Regions from separate parts of the Homo sapiens genome. Here region 2 is linked to region 1. Evidence: promoter capture Hi-C in 16 types of primary human blood cells and fetal thymus (Javierre and others, 2016). All regions are on one chromosome and are shown on one strand. Each heading gives the region's core, a stretch centred on a gene start or on the middle of the fragment in contact. The rest is flanking DNA. Distances are from core to core; before and after follow the strand shown. Region 1 holds the start of SCGB1D4 (secretoglobin family 1D member 4). Region 2 holds the start of BEST1 (bestrophin 1).

Region 1 (7,394 bases), core at 1,814-4,313:
TCAGTCCAAGACCAGCAGGACCACTGTAATTGCTGTTTTCTATTGCCATGGTTTTCATTCGCGAACGCAGGATGGGAAATCTGTAAGGAATCCAGGATGATTTCTGCAAATATTTCCTTCTGGGATGCTTGCATTCAGGCCCCATTAGTAACAGAATGCTGGTTACTCTAGAGTTGATTATCAGCCACAGCAAAAGTCCACTCCCCTATGGAAACCACCCTCGATTCAAGGCCCGAGACTGCAGGATCATAACAAGACCAGTGGAGATGTGCAGGGCAAGTGATTTATTAAAGCAACGTGTTGAAACCTTTACAATTTTTAGTGAAGATCAGGGTGTCGTTGAAAGACTTTGGAAACCAGGTTGAGCATTTTTACATGTCACACACCACATTTTTTCACTATTTCCACCTGAAATCAAAAAAAAGAAAGAAAGAAAGAAAGGTGAGGTCAGTCATGCTGCTGCTGGTGATGATAGGCTAACATCAAAGAGGCCAATGGGATTTTGCCCCAATGGCAATTGGAAAGGCAGAGGCAAGAATTCAGTTTGGGAAACTGAGGCCTAGACCTGGTGGCCTTACAACACCCATTCTGGTGAGAAAGCAGCCTTTCCCCACCAGACCAATAGACCTGGGAAGACCCAGGAGTTAGGCCCAGGGTTTTCATGGAGGAGGAGGGGAGGGGTTGACAGTGCAGCAAGAGGTTGTTGTCTGGGCTGTCCCAGGTCTGTGGAGTCTCCTGATCCCTGTAATGGGGGACCCAGGGCTCTGAAGCCAGGCAGGGCAGGGAGGGCTTCTGGGAAACACACCTTCCAGGAGACTCCAGTCTTCCCATGGGAGAATTCTGCCTAACGGCCAGGGGTCTTATCAGCCCTGACCCTGCAGCTTCTATGGGTATTTGCAGCCAAACCTCAGGACAACAATCCAGAGGCAGCCAGGCTGAGAGGGCCCTGGAATCTCTGATTTCTTGAGAAAGACATAGTGAGAACATCCCACTTGTGTGGCGTTGCAGTAGGTAGAGCAGCGAAAAAGTCTTGGCCCACTGGCTGTGGTCAGGAGAGTGTCATGGATGAGGAGTGGATAGTGGGCCCTGAGGAGCTGCAAGGGGCTCCTGGCTCTGCAGAAGCTGCACAGGAGCCCAGTTCACCAGCACCCTGTCTGTGGGAGGCCCAGCTCTAGGTCCCCTCAAGCCTCCTCTCCCTGTTCAAATCTCCCACACTCCCTGGGACATCCCATAGTGACCGTGTCCACTGCGTGAGGGTAGGTTGACCTCAGGAAAGATCCCAGCAGGGAGGCGGCCGTGCTTGGCCCTTCACCATCCCTGCCTTGGCCCTAGCTCACTCCCCATGTCCTCAGCACACTCTGGGGACACAGCATCCAGGCAGGTGACCTGACAAGAAACATGCAGGAGGCTGTGTGCAGCTGAGTTGAATTCTGCCTCTGCATAAAGGAGAAAGAAATTACCAGGACTTTTTCAATGAGAGTCGTTTCTTAAAAGATATCTGATCGGTGCAGTGCTTCACTTCCAACTTGGCTGCAAGAGCTTCTGGAGGTGGATTAAGTTTGGCAACTTGGAGGTTTACCGCAGCGTCACTTAAGAATAAGAAGACTGTGATCTCAGAAGCAACAGCTGGGCAGACAAGAGCATGGGCTGCAGCACAAAAATAAAAATATTGTTGATGTTAGGAAAGTCGATTTTTCTCTCATGGCTCCCTGAGGTTACACCAGACAGGATCCCCTGGGTTCTATGTTTCTATACCATTATTGTGCTGATGACAATACCAGAAACTCCAGGTGTGACTTTCTCCGGGTCACACAACAAAGGGAAGAGCTTCATATCCTCAGCTAGACTTCTTTTTCTTTTTTTTGAGATAGGTTCACCCAGACTGGAATGCAGTGGCACAATCTCGGCTCACTGCAGCCTGAATGTCTTGGGCTCAAGCGATCCTCCCTCAGCCCCCAAAGTAGCTGAGACTACCAGTGCCTGCCACCATGCCCGCTTTTGTGTGTGTGTGTGTGTGTGTGTGTGTGTGTGTGTGTTTTGTTTTGTTTTTTTTTTTTGTAGAGATGGGGTTTCGCCATGTTGCCCAGGCTGGTGCTGAACTCCTGAGCTCAAGTGATCTGCCCACTGTGGCCTCCCAAAGTGCTAAGATTACAGGAATGAGACACCATGCCTGGCCCACAGCTTGACTCTTGACAACCATAACCTTACTTCATTCTCATAGCCACTCCTGGCAGAAGCTTTAACCACCAGTGATAAGAGGAGGCTCAAGGAGGGTGAGCATTGTGCCCAAGATCAAGGGGTGGGAAGTGTCGAAGCCCAGGTTCACCCCAGACCTCACATTACATCATCTGACACAGATCCCATTCAGAAGTGAAGCTCAGGCAGAAGAATTCCTAACATTTGCCTGAACTGATTTTTCTATAAAACTTCTTAGATACTGGGGATTAGAAGAAATAGCTCTAAGCAGCCAGGCGCAGTAGCTCATGCCTGTTATCCCAGCACTTTAGGAGGCCGAGGCGGGCAGATCATCTGAGGTCGGGAGTTCGAGACCAGCCTGACCAACATGGAGAAACCCCATCTCTACTAAAAATACAAAATTAGCCAGCTGTGGTGGCCCATGCCTGTAATCCCAGCTGCTCAGGAAGGCTGAGGCAGGAGAATCACTTGAACCCCGGAGGCAGAGGTTGCAGTGAGCCAAGATCATGCCACTGCACTCCAGCCTGGGCAACAAGAGCAAAACTTCTCAAAAAAAAAAAAAAAAAAAGGAAGAAGAAAGAAGAAATAGCTCTAACCTTTATGAATCTTATTCAACAAGCACAGAAAAGGGTTTGGAATTTTGTTTGGTTTTGTGCAGACCCCAACCCAAAGCACAAATAGGTGATCTTGTGCTCAGAAGAGGGTGCATCCCAGGGGCTGGTGCTGGACTCATGACTGATGTACTCACCCTGGTAGCAGCAAAGGGCCAGCGAGACCATCAGGAGACACACTGACAGCCTCATGGTGGCTTATTCGGCTGTGAGCTCAGCTTTCACAATGAGTGATTTGGATTCGACTCCAGGAGCCTGTGTAGTCATGGAGGCCAGGGCTATTTGTACCTAGGGAGCCTGGCTGGTCCTACCTACCGGGGCACCTGGTAGGTCATGAGGCCTGGCTCCCAGCCCGCCCTTCCAAGCCAGGGCTGCTGCCGTCCATCAATGTCACCTCCTTAGGAATCTCTGCATCTGAGTGGGGCGGAGCACAAGACAGCAGCCTTGTGAGAACTCTGCTCTGTGCTCCAGGTGAGTGTTCAGGTACATCTGGAAATGTTCCTGGGATCCTCAATTTCCTTATGAGCTTTTGCTGATTAGTTCTTTTTATCTTTGTAGCAGTGCAGGGGCACAGGTGAATTATGGCTTCACAAGGCACAGGAAGCTGGAAGGCTGTGTTCTCTTTATGGGAGAGCAGGGACATAAGGAGACCCTGCTTTGATCCCCCTGCATGTCTGACAACAAGCAGGCTTGTTTCAGTTGCACATTGGGAAAGTCTAATCCTTCCCCTCAGCCCCTTCCATCACCACCATGTTCACTGCATAGGTACTGAAAACATAGTTGAATACATCCCACCTGTAGAAGATATGCTGAGGAAAAACATCTGCTGCACCTGTTCTCTAGCCTGCCTCACTCCCAAACCTGAATCTTGTTTATACGTGCAGTTATATATATGGCCAAGATTCACATTTTCTATCTATAAAAAGCAAGCTTTCTGTGATGTGTAGCCACCCACGTCTTATCTTAGGGCTGATCTGAAGATTAAATAACCTAACTCTTTTTCTCAAGAGCTTTTGGAGTGTTCAGAGCCAATCATACATCAGTGGGGCTCTAGGCTGGGAAGATAATAGAAGGGAAGAGACAGAGGAACAGGGTGGGTGGTCACTTCCCCCTAACCCCTAGGCTCAAGTTTTCCACTTCAAACCTATCTGTGCTGCCTGGGCCAATCCCATTTTTAAGGGAAAGTGAAGGAAGCCCCCAGACAAAGCAATACACACCCGCCTTCCCTCCCATTGCCGTGCCTTCATGTGGTGTGAGTTTAATCACCAGAAATTTTTCTCTTAAATAAACTTACATTTGAGAGGAGTCACAGCCCAGGCCATAGCTTTCCATTCTCAGCTATGTAGTCAAATCACTTGGAGCTTTTAAAACATACTGACCCCACAGGCTTCTCTCTCTGGCGATTTTGATTCAGTAGCATTGGGGTGAATCCCTCCTTTCTGTACTGTTTAAACTGCTCTGGTGTTTCTCACAGACAGCAGGGCTGAGATCCAGCCAGGAAAACCTTTAAGAAGGAAGGGGACCTTACGGGTTTTGTCATCAAAGACACATTGACAGATTTAGTTGAGTCCAAGCTGAGGGCAACAGTGGATCTCACTTTCATCACACAGGATGACGACGGAGTCCCTGAATCAGCCCTGCTGCCACCAAGGAGGGGGAGGGTTGGTGGTGAGGTTTACAGCTATGAGGGTTCAGATCCTCATTTATGGGCTCCTGGACCTTAGGAAAATTATTCAGTTTATGTAACCCCAGTTTTCTCATTTGTCAAAGTAGGCTACTAATGGTGCCTACATCATTGGGTTGATAGATGATCAAATGAGTGTGTTCATGGGTGTGTGTGTGTTTAAAATATACCAAGTTCTGGTACATAGTAGTTCTCAATGTAAACTGCCATTATCTTGTCCCATTTGTCATATATGTCATGGTTTGCCAGTAGTTCCTAGTTTAGAGCACAGCCAAAATCCACTAAATCACCTACTTGCAGAACTACACGGACACCTAGATACACCATTTCTCTTTGACATAAATGGAAAAGGAAACCCAGCTCATGGTCTTGGAGGCTGCAAACCCATGAATATGGGCTTCAGGACTGAGGCCTCTTTTGCAGTAGACAGGTCTGTGAAGCATCCACCCTTTTTGTGGATGAGAGTTTATCCTCACTCAGGCTTGACATTCACCTTGTCATCTGTACAGTCCATTGGGGAGCATGTGTATCTCTGACAGAGGATTGTTTGCGTATACTTTTATTAGTCCTACCACGATTAACACCTATGCAGGGTTTTTTTGTTTTCATCATTGATGCTTTTTATGGCTCCCTCCTTTTTACACAATTGACTCAAGATTTTAGTTTATTCTTTCCATCCATGGACATCGTTGCCTGACCCCGATGACTTGTTCAATACTCCCCTTCATAGACTCTGCTGGAACCATGCACCTCTCATTTGCAGCAATCTCAAGTAACAAGGAATTTAAAAGGATTTTCTTTAAAAGTGCTCAGCTTAATTAAAAGTGGATATGTTCAAGTTATAGGTATATTGAAAAGGTCTTTATGCTTTTCTCTTGTTGAATCTTGTTTTTTGGGAAAAAGGCTCTTTTCTTTTCAATCAACTGAATTATTTTTCTCCATTTTTCATCTTACCATTCTTAATGCAAGCATGAGAAGCCCTAAGATAACTTCTGGTAGCATGGGACTCCTTGGGAAAAACAGAGGAGGCACCACAGACCCCATTTTGGGGAAAAAAAAAAAACTGTTTTCCTCATGAAACCCCCAAAATTAAAAGCAGTTACTTCTCAAAATCAAAGGCTCTGTTCTGTTATGTATTGTGTAATCTACCATTTTGAGTTTTGGGGGTGTCAAATTACTTCACACTATGAGAGAGCTTCGGTGTGTAATAACTAGATAGAAAATTCAATGTTAGGGATGGCTAATAGTAGTTATAATCAAAGAAGCGTGCTCTTGGCCACCTGAAAGATATGGCAACATCCTCACCCCCAACTAAGAGACGAGACTCCCATGGGGAATGGGCTCATTACAGAATAAGCCAATTGGCTTTGGGTTCCCTTGCAGTGAAATACGTGATAGAACCACTACACTGTCTTCTCCCATAGTATCTCCCTCCTTTTAGGGACCCAAGATCAGGTATAAAATGGCACCCTTAATTTTAGGGATCTGCCTTTGCCTTCAGCTGCGTCTGTTTATTAGGTATGCTACATAGCCCTGTTCCTTCAAGGGCTCCACCCTAAAGCCAGTAATCCAATTAAGAGACTACCAAGTGAAAAATCTTACAAGTGCTGAATCTTCTGTTTCTTAGTGTTGCTATATATGTGCTGTGTGTGATGTCTATAAAAAGAGCTCTGATTGATTGGCTTAAAGAAAAATAAGTGCTTCAATCAAATGTTTTAGTTCACATGACTTGAAGAAATAAAAATAGTCTGAAGGATTATTAGTAAAAGGCAAGTGTCATCAAAATGCAAATAGGTTGTCTAAATCATATAATTTAGATACCAGGTTTGCTAAATGTTGCAAGGTCATATACTGCCTGCTTTACACATAGGTAAGGCCTGGGACTCATGGAGCTAGAAGCTGAAAAGTCAGACTTTATCTGCACTTCTGTCTGGGTCCTAGGATCCACAGCTGGAACATAATTAAAATTGCTTACTAACCAGGTTTTTCACCAAAAATAAAAGGTGAAGGGTAAAGTTATTGTAAACCACAGAGATAAATACACTTCTTTGTCAGTTGATGGTGTTTTCTAAATATACAATCATGTCATCTGCAAACAGAGACAATTGGATTTCCTCTTTTCCTATTTGAATACCCTTTATTTCTTTCTCTTGCCTGATTGCCCTGGCCAGAACTTCCAATACTGTGTTGAATAGGAGTGGTGAGAGAGGGCATCCTTGTCTTGTGCCAGTTTTCAAAGGGAATGCTTCCAGCTTTTGCCCATTCATATGATATTGGCTGTGGGCTTGTCATAAATAGCTCTTATTATTTTGAGATATGTTCCATCAATACCTAGTTTATTGAGAGTTTTTAGCATGAAGGGCTGTTGAATTTTATCAAAGGCCTTTTCTGCATCTATTGAGATTATCATGTGGTTTTTGTCATTGGTTCTGTTTATGTGATGGATTATATTTATTGATTTGCATATGTTCAACCCGCCTTTCATCCCAGGGATGAAGCTGACTTGATCGTGGTGGATAGCTTTTTTTATGTGCTGCTGGATTCAATTTGCCAGTATTTTATTGAGGATTTTCTCATCGATGTTCATCCGGGAGATTAGCCTGAAATTTTCTTTTTTTGTTGTGTCTCTGCCAGGTTTTGGCATCGGGATGATATTGGCCTCATAATACGGGTTAGAGAGGATTCCCTCTTTTTCTATTGTTTGGAATAGTTTCAGAAGGAATGGCACCAGCTCCTCTTTGGACCTCTGGTAGAATTCGGCTGTGAATCTGTCCATTCCTGGACTTTTTTGGTTGGTAGGCTATTAATTATTGCCTCAATTTCAGAACTTGTTATTGGTCTATTCAGGGATTCAACTTCTTCCTTTCATCTTGGGAAGGTGTATGTGTCCAGGAATTTATCCA
Region 2 (7,394 bases), core at 4,842-7,341, 350 kb before region 1:
TTCCTTCCTTCCCTCCTTTGTTGAGACAGGGTCTTGCTCTGTCACCTAGTCTGGACTGCAGTTCTGAGCTGGTGTGATCATAGCTCACTGCAGCCTCAAACTCCTGGGCTCAAGCAATCATCCGACCTCAGCCTCCCAAAATGTAGGGATTGTATGTGTGAGCCACTGCACCAGGGCAGATTCTGCATTGGTAACAAGCTTCCAAATGATGTAACTGGGCCCCAGACCTCAGTTTGAGAAGCCAGGTTCTAGAAGTCAGCAGCAGGAAGGAATGGACCAATTAAGCAAATCAGCAAAGCAGAGGGACCACAGAAAAAAGGACGATGCTCCCGGGCCCCTCCCCCGGGACATATTTACACTAAAAATTATTCACTTTTCTATCTGAAGTTCTTATTTGCCTGACTGTCCTGTAGTTGTTTTGCCAGGATGTCATCTAATGTTTGTTTTTGTTTTGGACACGGAGTTTCGCTCTTGTCAACCAGGCTGGAGTACAATGGTGCAATCTTGGCTCACTGCAACCTCTGTCTCCCGGGTTCAAGTGATTCTCCTGCCTCAGCCTCCCCGAGTAGCTGGGATTACAGGCATGCGCCACCATGCCTGGCTACTTATCTTTGTATTTTTAGTAGAGACGGGATTTTGCCATGTTGGCCAGGCTGGTCTTGAATTCCTGACCTCCCGTGATTCACCCGCCTCAGCCTCCCAAAGTGCTGGGATTACAGGTAGGAGCCACCACACCTGGCCTGGCCTGTAGTTTTATTGGCTAAGTCTGGTAGCCCTAGCATGGGTGGAGAAGGCTGTAGCTGTGGAAGCCCAGCCAGTCTGCATCTGAGGCAGGGAAAGGCAGCTAAGGCAGCCTGCCGTCAGCCCATTGACCTGACAGATAGGGGCCAATGTGGCTTACTCCTCATCTAGCCTACCCTTGTGCCGTCCTCTCCAACATCCATCCACCTGACAGATGGATGACCCTTCCTCTTCCCCAGGGGTTGTTTTGATGAGTAGATGACATTTCTAAAGAGCGCTTAGTGCACTGCCTGACACCTGGTAAGTGGTCAAGATGGGGAGAACTGATTGTTTCTACTATTCTTTCCCTCTCACAGTGGCCACCGCAGCGCTAAACACGGTCGGTCGGCATTCAGTGCTCGCCGTGGAAGCGAACCGCAGGAGCATCCTGGGGCAGCGGGGAGTTGCTGCACTCACCTAGACAGGCGGCCTACTGTGACTTCAGGCAAGTCATTTTCCTTCTCTGTGCCTCAGTTTCTTTGTCTGCAAAATGAGCAGCTGGACTAGAAACTTACCATTCTTTCACAGCACGTCAAACTCAACATGCCCATTTGAGCTGAAGACACTGAGGCTACTCACTGGGTGTGAACCTTTGACAGCATCCAGGCCCTGCACAGTTGTCTAGGAGAAGCCTGACCCATGATGTCCTTTCCGCTACCCACCTGCCACGAGCCCCAGTTCTGAGCTGGAGGGGTGGGGGTGGGTGGAAGGTGGATAGTGGTCAGTGCCTCACCTGGCCGACTGCAGCCTGGCAGAGTCCATGGGGGACCTCGCAGCACAGTGGATCCTCTTGCCTTGTGTCTCTAGTTGGTCCAGCTCTGGTCTATTCCATGCTATTCCGTTGTCATGGGCAGGACTGGGTTTGATGAAGTTGGACCTAGGTGTATCCCAGCCTCTCCTGGTTTCTGTCGTCTTTCTGTGGTGCCCAGGGCTTATGTTTCTATCTCTTTGAATGTTGAGTTTACTCCGTCCTTCAGGGATCAGGGCTGCCTGAGCTCAGGGTGGAGGTGCTGTTGTCTGTCTGGCTTCCGGGCCCTGGACTGGCAGTGTCCCCCAGCACCCCTGTCCAGCTATGCCAAGCCCCCTCCTTTTCTTTCTTGGCCTCTGCCCTATTTGTTCTGTGACTGGCCCAAGAGAGGGGTGTGGGCTGGCAGGTGTCCCACATAAAGCCTGGAGGCAGCATCCAGGCCTGGCTGACTTACCCCGGGGCCCCCTGCCTACTGCCCCCAGCCAAGCTGGGTCTCCTTCTTCCTGCCCAGCTGAGGCAGGGCCTAGAAGGGCACCGAGGCAGGCCCTCTGTGATGCTCCTGTTGCTATGGTAATTCTAGATGAGAAGGCCATAGCATTCTGTGTCTGGCACCCCCGCGCATCTCCCCAGCTCTGCCCTGCTGCCCCAAGAGATGGCTCTCTGCTGGGGAGCTCGAGAGCTTGGAATCTGCTGCAGTCAAAGTTTCTTCCATGCGGCCAGGCACAGTGGCTCATGCCTGCAATCCTAGCACTTTGGGAGGCCGAGGCGGGTGAATTACTTGAGGTCAGGAGTTCAAGACCAACCTGGCCAACATGGTGAAACCCCATCTCTACTAAAAATACAATACTTAGCCGGAAATCACTTGAACCCAGGAGGCAGATGTTGCAGTGAGCCAAGATCATGCCACTGCACTCCAGCCTGGGTAACAAAGCGAGACTCCGTCTCAAAAAAAAAAAAAAAGTATCTTTCATGCAGGCCCCATCCTTTGGACCTCCCTTCAACCCCAAGAGAGACCACTACCCTAGCAGGTAAGACTCTACCTCTCAGAAACTGACCTTTACTGTAGAGCTGATAGTGGGAAAGGGCTCAGGATCCAAAATCAAAAGACCTAGATCCTAGTCTCAAGCCATTTATAGCTGTGTGACCTTGGACAAGGCAGGCCTTGAGCTTCAGTGTCCTCCTTTGTAAAATGTGGATAAACATGCGATACTGAATCATCCTTCAGGAATAGCTCTATGACTTTCCGTAGGTTGTTCCCCTGATGTGTAATGCTCTTCCATTCTTCTCAGCTCCATGAACTCCTACTCATGCTTCAAGACCCAACCGAAATGCCCCATTGTCTGTAAAAATTTCCCTGACCTCTGTGCACTTGGCACAGATCTTAGGCCTTGCCATTCTGTGTTAGAGTTGTTATTTAAGTGTTTCCAAATTTTTTGACTATGAATACGTACAGGCAGGAATCAGATTAGGCTCAGTTCTGGAAGGAGAAATGGTTTGGCGAATATTTTCTTTGCGGAACGGAAAGCAGAAGAGGGCGACCTTGACTGGGTTGGGTGCCATCTCTGCAGGGGTCAATCCTGGGACTCTTGTTCCAGGCATGGCTTGGGTCAATCAGCACTCATGACTTTGCTGTGTGCCTGAGCCGTGCCTGGCTAACTGGGGACATTTTCATAGCTGAGACCCAGTAGGAGAGACCATGACTTGTGCCAGGGTGTGCCTGTCTCAGCTCTGGGGCAGGGCCAGGAGCAGCTGCTCATGGGATGTCTCTGGGGACATGCTGGGGCCTCTGGGAGGGGAAGGGAGACTGGCCATGCACTGTCTATGGTCCTGGTGGTACTCCTGGGATATTGCCAAGGAGCCTGCGGTTCAGGGAACAGGGAGGAGGGACTCTAGTGTCTCCAACTCCCTCTCATGGCTCTATGGCTGCTGGTCGGGGTCAGGGAGATGAAGCAGTGCCAGCTCCGTGGTCTGCACTGATCCTGACCAGTGAACCAGGCTTCCCCAGCCAGAGCCAGCTAGTCAAGCACGCTCTCTAGTGGCCACCACAGGGAAGGCAAGAACTTGTCTCCACAAAGGCAGGATTTTCATTTATTCCTTCAGAGAGTACAGAATGAGCATCAATGTTCCAGGCATGGTGCCAGGCATGTGTGTTAACTTTAGTTAAAACATACTTATTGGCCGAGTGTGGCGGCTCACTCCTGTAATCCCACCACTTTGGGAGGCCTAGGTGGGAGGACTGCTTGAACTTAGAGCTCAATACCAGCCTGGGTAATGTAGTGAGACCCTATCTCTATAAAAAAAAAAAAAATAGCTGGGTGTGGTGGTGTGCGTCTGTAGTCCCAGCGACTTGGGAGGCTGAGATGGGAGGATTGCTTGAGCCTGGGAAGTGGAGGTTGCAATGAGCCAAAATCACACCCATTGCACTCCAGCCTGGGTGACCTTGTCTCAAAAATATAGTTATATATTTACTTATATATTTATATGTATAAATATATGTGTACATACAAATATATTTGTAATATTATAGACATATTAATACATATTTACATATGTTAATATATAAATATATATAATATATATTTATCATCTTCTAAATGGAAAGCTCTTGAGTTTCAGGATGTGTTGGTTGGGAAGGGAATACAGGATAGGGAAATAATCCATTAAGCAATGACTCAGCACAGGCCATAAAATCAGAATCACCTGGAGAACTTGAACAATCCCAACACCTGGGGTCCATCCAGACCAATCAAATCAGAATTCGTAGGGGTCAGGCACAGGCACCAGTGGTTTGGAGAGTTGACGGACACATGTCCCATCCATCATTCTCATTCGGCTGCCAAGGTAGGCATCGTTGTCCCATTTTGCATATGAGGAGACTGAGGCTGAAGTGAACCTGCTTCTTTCCCCATATCAGTTGAGGACAGCGATGGGGCAGCGGGGAGGCAGTAAATACTCCTACAAGGCTGCCTCTAAAGAGAGTCTTATAATAACAACAGCTTTATTGTTTGCCATGATTAGAAAAGTATTCAAGGTCATTGCGAAATAGTGTTTTTTTTTCTAGGCAGATAATTATATAAAGGCAAAAATGGTGTGTGGGGGTGGGGGACAAGGGGAGGGAGAGCATTAGGACAAATACCTAATGCACGCAAGGCTTAAAACCTAGATGATGGGTTGACAGGTGCAGCAAACCACCATGGCACACGTATACCTATGTAACAAACCTGCACATCATGTATACCTATGTAACAAACCTGTACATTCTGCACACGTATCCCAGAACTTAAAGTGAAAAAAAAAGTGGTGTGTAGAAAAATCACCTGCAATCTCAGCATAGTTAACGCTTAGTACATTTCAGAGAGAGAGGGTGACAGGAAAGGGAGGATGAGAGTGGGTTTAAGACACAAGGTCATATTATAAAATCAGGGCTTCTGGAAGTTTAGTCCCAAAACCACACATCTCATAATCCCCTGCAGTGCTTGATTAAAATGCAACATCCCTAAGGCCACAGACTCAGACTCTGGAGAAAGATCCAGAAAACTGCCCGTTTAATAAACATTTGGGCGATTCTTACGGCCTCTAAAGACCAAGAACCACTGCTGCCTAGAGCTCTGCTCTCTTCATTGAACAATACAAGAGGAGTGTGTAGGTAGACACCCACCACTTCCAACAGCTTAGGAGAGCCCTTGAGTATGGATTGATGTATTAAAATTTATTGAATCACATGCTGAGATTTTCACCAGCTGCCCGTGGGGATCTGGGCATTTATTCCCATATTGCACTGGCTGGCTGGAAGCCAGCAGCATAAACTCCAGGGCTGTTCTGTCAACCCCCACCAGACTCACCCCCCTCCACCAGCCCCGGCAGGCTTCTCCTTCCATCTCTCTGAAGCAACTTACTGATGGGCCCTGCCAGCCAATCACAGCCAGAATAACGTATGATGTCACCAGCAGCCAATCAGAGCTCCTCGTCAGCATATGCAGAATTCTGTCATTTTACTAGGGTGATGAAATTCCCAAGCAACACCATCCTTTTCAGATAAGGGCACTGAGGCTGAGAGAGGAGCTGAAACCTACCCGGGGTCACCACACACAGGTGGCAAGGCTGGGACCAGAAACCAGGACTGTTGACTGCAGCCCGGTATTCATTCTTTCCATAGCCCACAGGGCTGTCAAAGACCCCAGGGCCTAGTCAGAGGCTCCTCCTTCCTGGAGAGTTCCTGGCACAGAAGTTGAAGCTCAGCACAGCCCCCTAACCCCCAACTCTCTCTGCAAGGCCTCAGGGGTCAGAACACTGGTGGAGCAGATCCTTTAGCCTCTGGATTTTAGGGCCATGGTAGAGGGGGTGTTGCCCTAAATTCCAGCCCTGGTCTCAGCCCAACACCCTCCAAGAAGAAATTAGAGGGGCCATGGCCAGGCTGTGCTAGCCGTTGCTTCTGAGCAGATTACAAGAAGGGACTAAGACAAGGACTCCTTTGTGGAGGTCCTGGCTTAGGGAGTCAAGTGACGGCGGCTCAGCACTCACGTGGGCAGTGCCAGCCTCTAAGAGTGGGCAGGGGCACTGGCCACAGAGTCCCAGGGAGTCCCACCAGCCTAGTCGCCAGACCTTCTGTGGGATCATCGGACCCACCTGGAACCCCACCTGTGAGTACAAGGTGCCCCAGGTGGACTGGGCTGGGGCTTTGAGGCCTTCAGGGTTGGATGGCCATCTTGCGTATTTGTGTGGGATATGCACACACAGGCAGCACATGCGCAGGTGTGTGGGCACCTGTGTGTCTGTGCAAATGCCCTGAGGTGGGAATGAGCTTGGTGTGCATCAGGCACAGCCAGCCAGTGTGGCTGCAGCAAAACACACAGGGAAAGAATGGAGGGGGCATCAATCACTGCTTCAGTAAATTTTTATTGAGCGCCTTCTACGAGAACACAAGAGGAGCTTCCATTCTGAGGAGGAAACAGGCAGGAAACAGGCAGATATCCTGTATAATTTCAAGTAGTGATAAGTGCTCTCTAGAAATATCAAGCAAGGTGAGGAGACACAGAGCACCGGTGGCAGTGGGGCTCTATTTCCAGGTTGGATGGTTGGGAACATCCTTTCTAAAGGGAACCTGGAGTGGGAAGGAACCATGCAGGTATCTCAGGAAGAGCTTCCTCCAGGCAGGAAGATCAGCAGGTGGAAAGGCCCTGGAGCCACCATTCAGTAAACATCATTTGAGCATCTCTACCAGCTAGGTTCCATTATGGGAATGGGAATATGGTGGTGGACAGGGCTGCCTGGTCCCTTCCATACTTCTCACACTAGGGTGGTTGAGAGAGCTTGGGAGCTAACGAACAAGATGGGCTGAGAACACTGCCTAGCCCAGAGGACCTGAGCTTAGTGTGTAGACATTGCTGCTGTTACTGCCTTTGTCATTGTATTATTTATTTATTTATTTATTTATTTTTAGACAGAGTTTTGCTCTTCTTACCCAGGCTGGAGTGCAATGGCGTGATCTCAGCTCACTGCAACCTCCACCTCCTGGGTTCAAGCGATTCTCCTGCCTCAGCCTCCTGAGTAGCTGGGATTACAGGCACCCGCACCACGCCTGGATAATTTTTTTGTATTTTTAGTAGAGACAGGGTTTCACCATGTTGGCCAGGCTGGTCTCGAACTCCTGACCTTAGGTGATCCACCTGCCTCGACTTCCCAAAGTGCTGGGATTATAGGCATGAGCCACTGCGCCCAGTGATTATAGAAAGTTAAAGGCACATGGCAATGCACACGCCTATCTACGTCTTCCCTGCCAAAGCAAAGGGCAGCCTCTGGGCTCACTTTCTTGCGTTTCTACTTCCAAAAGGCAGTCAGAACTGGCAGGGCCTTGGAGACCACTTCA

What was found. The method cuts DNA at HindIII sites, captures the fragments that hold promoters and counts their contacts. A CHiCAGO score of 5 or more calls a contact.
Region 2: a contact is called between the fragment with the promoter of BEST1 here and the fragment with the promoter of SCGB1D4 in region 1, in 12 of 17 cell types (activated CD4 T cells, erythroblasts, endothelial precursors and 9 more). The highest score is 9.1, in activated CD4 T cells.

Annotation. Positions count from the first base shown.
Region 1 is chr11:62,296,012-62,303,405 of GRCh38, forward strand. SCGB1D4 (secretoglobin family 1D member 4) reads right to left here and starts at 3,064. Exons shown (of 3, transcript NM_206998.2): 1 at 2,945-3,064; 2 at 1,461-1,647; 3 at 270-408. The coding sequence starts at 2,999. The coding sequence ends at 399. The HindIII fragment of the contact is 1,500 bases long and covers 2,236-3,735 here.
Region 2 is chr11:61,944,260-61,951,653 of GRCh38, forward strand. It overlaps BEST1 (bestrophin 1), which reads left to right and starts at 6,092. Exons shown (of 11, transcript NM_004183.4): 1 at 6,092-6,168. It also overlaps a transcript of RAB3IL1 not described here. RefSeq lists a silencer at 1,790-1,953. The HindIII fragment of the contact is 17,311 bases long and covers 197-7,394 here.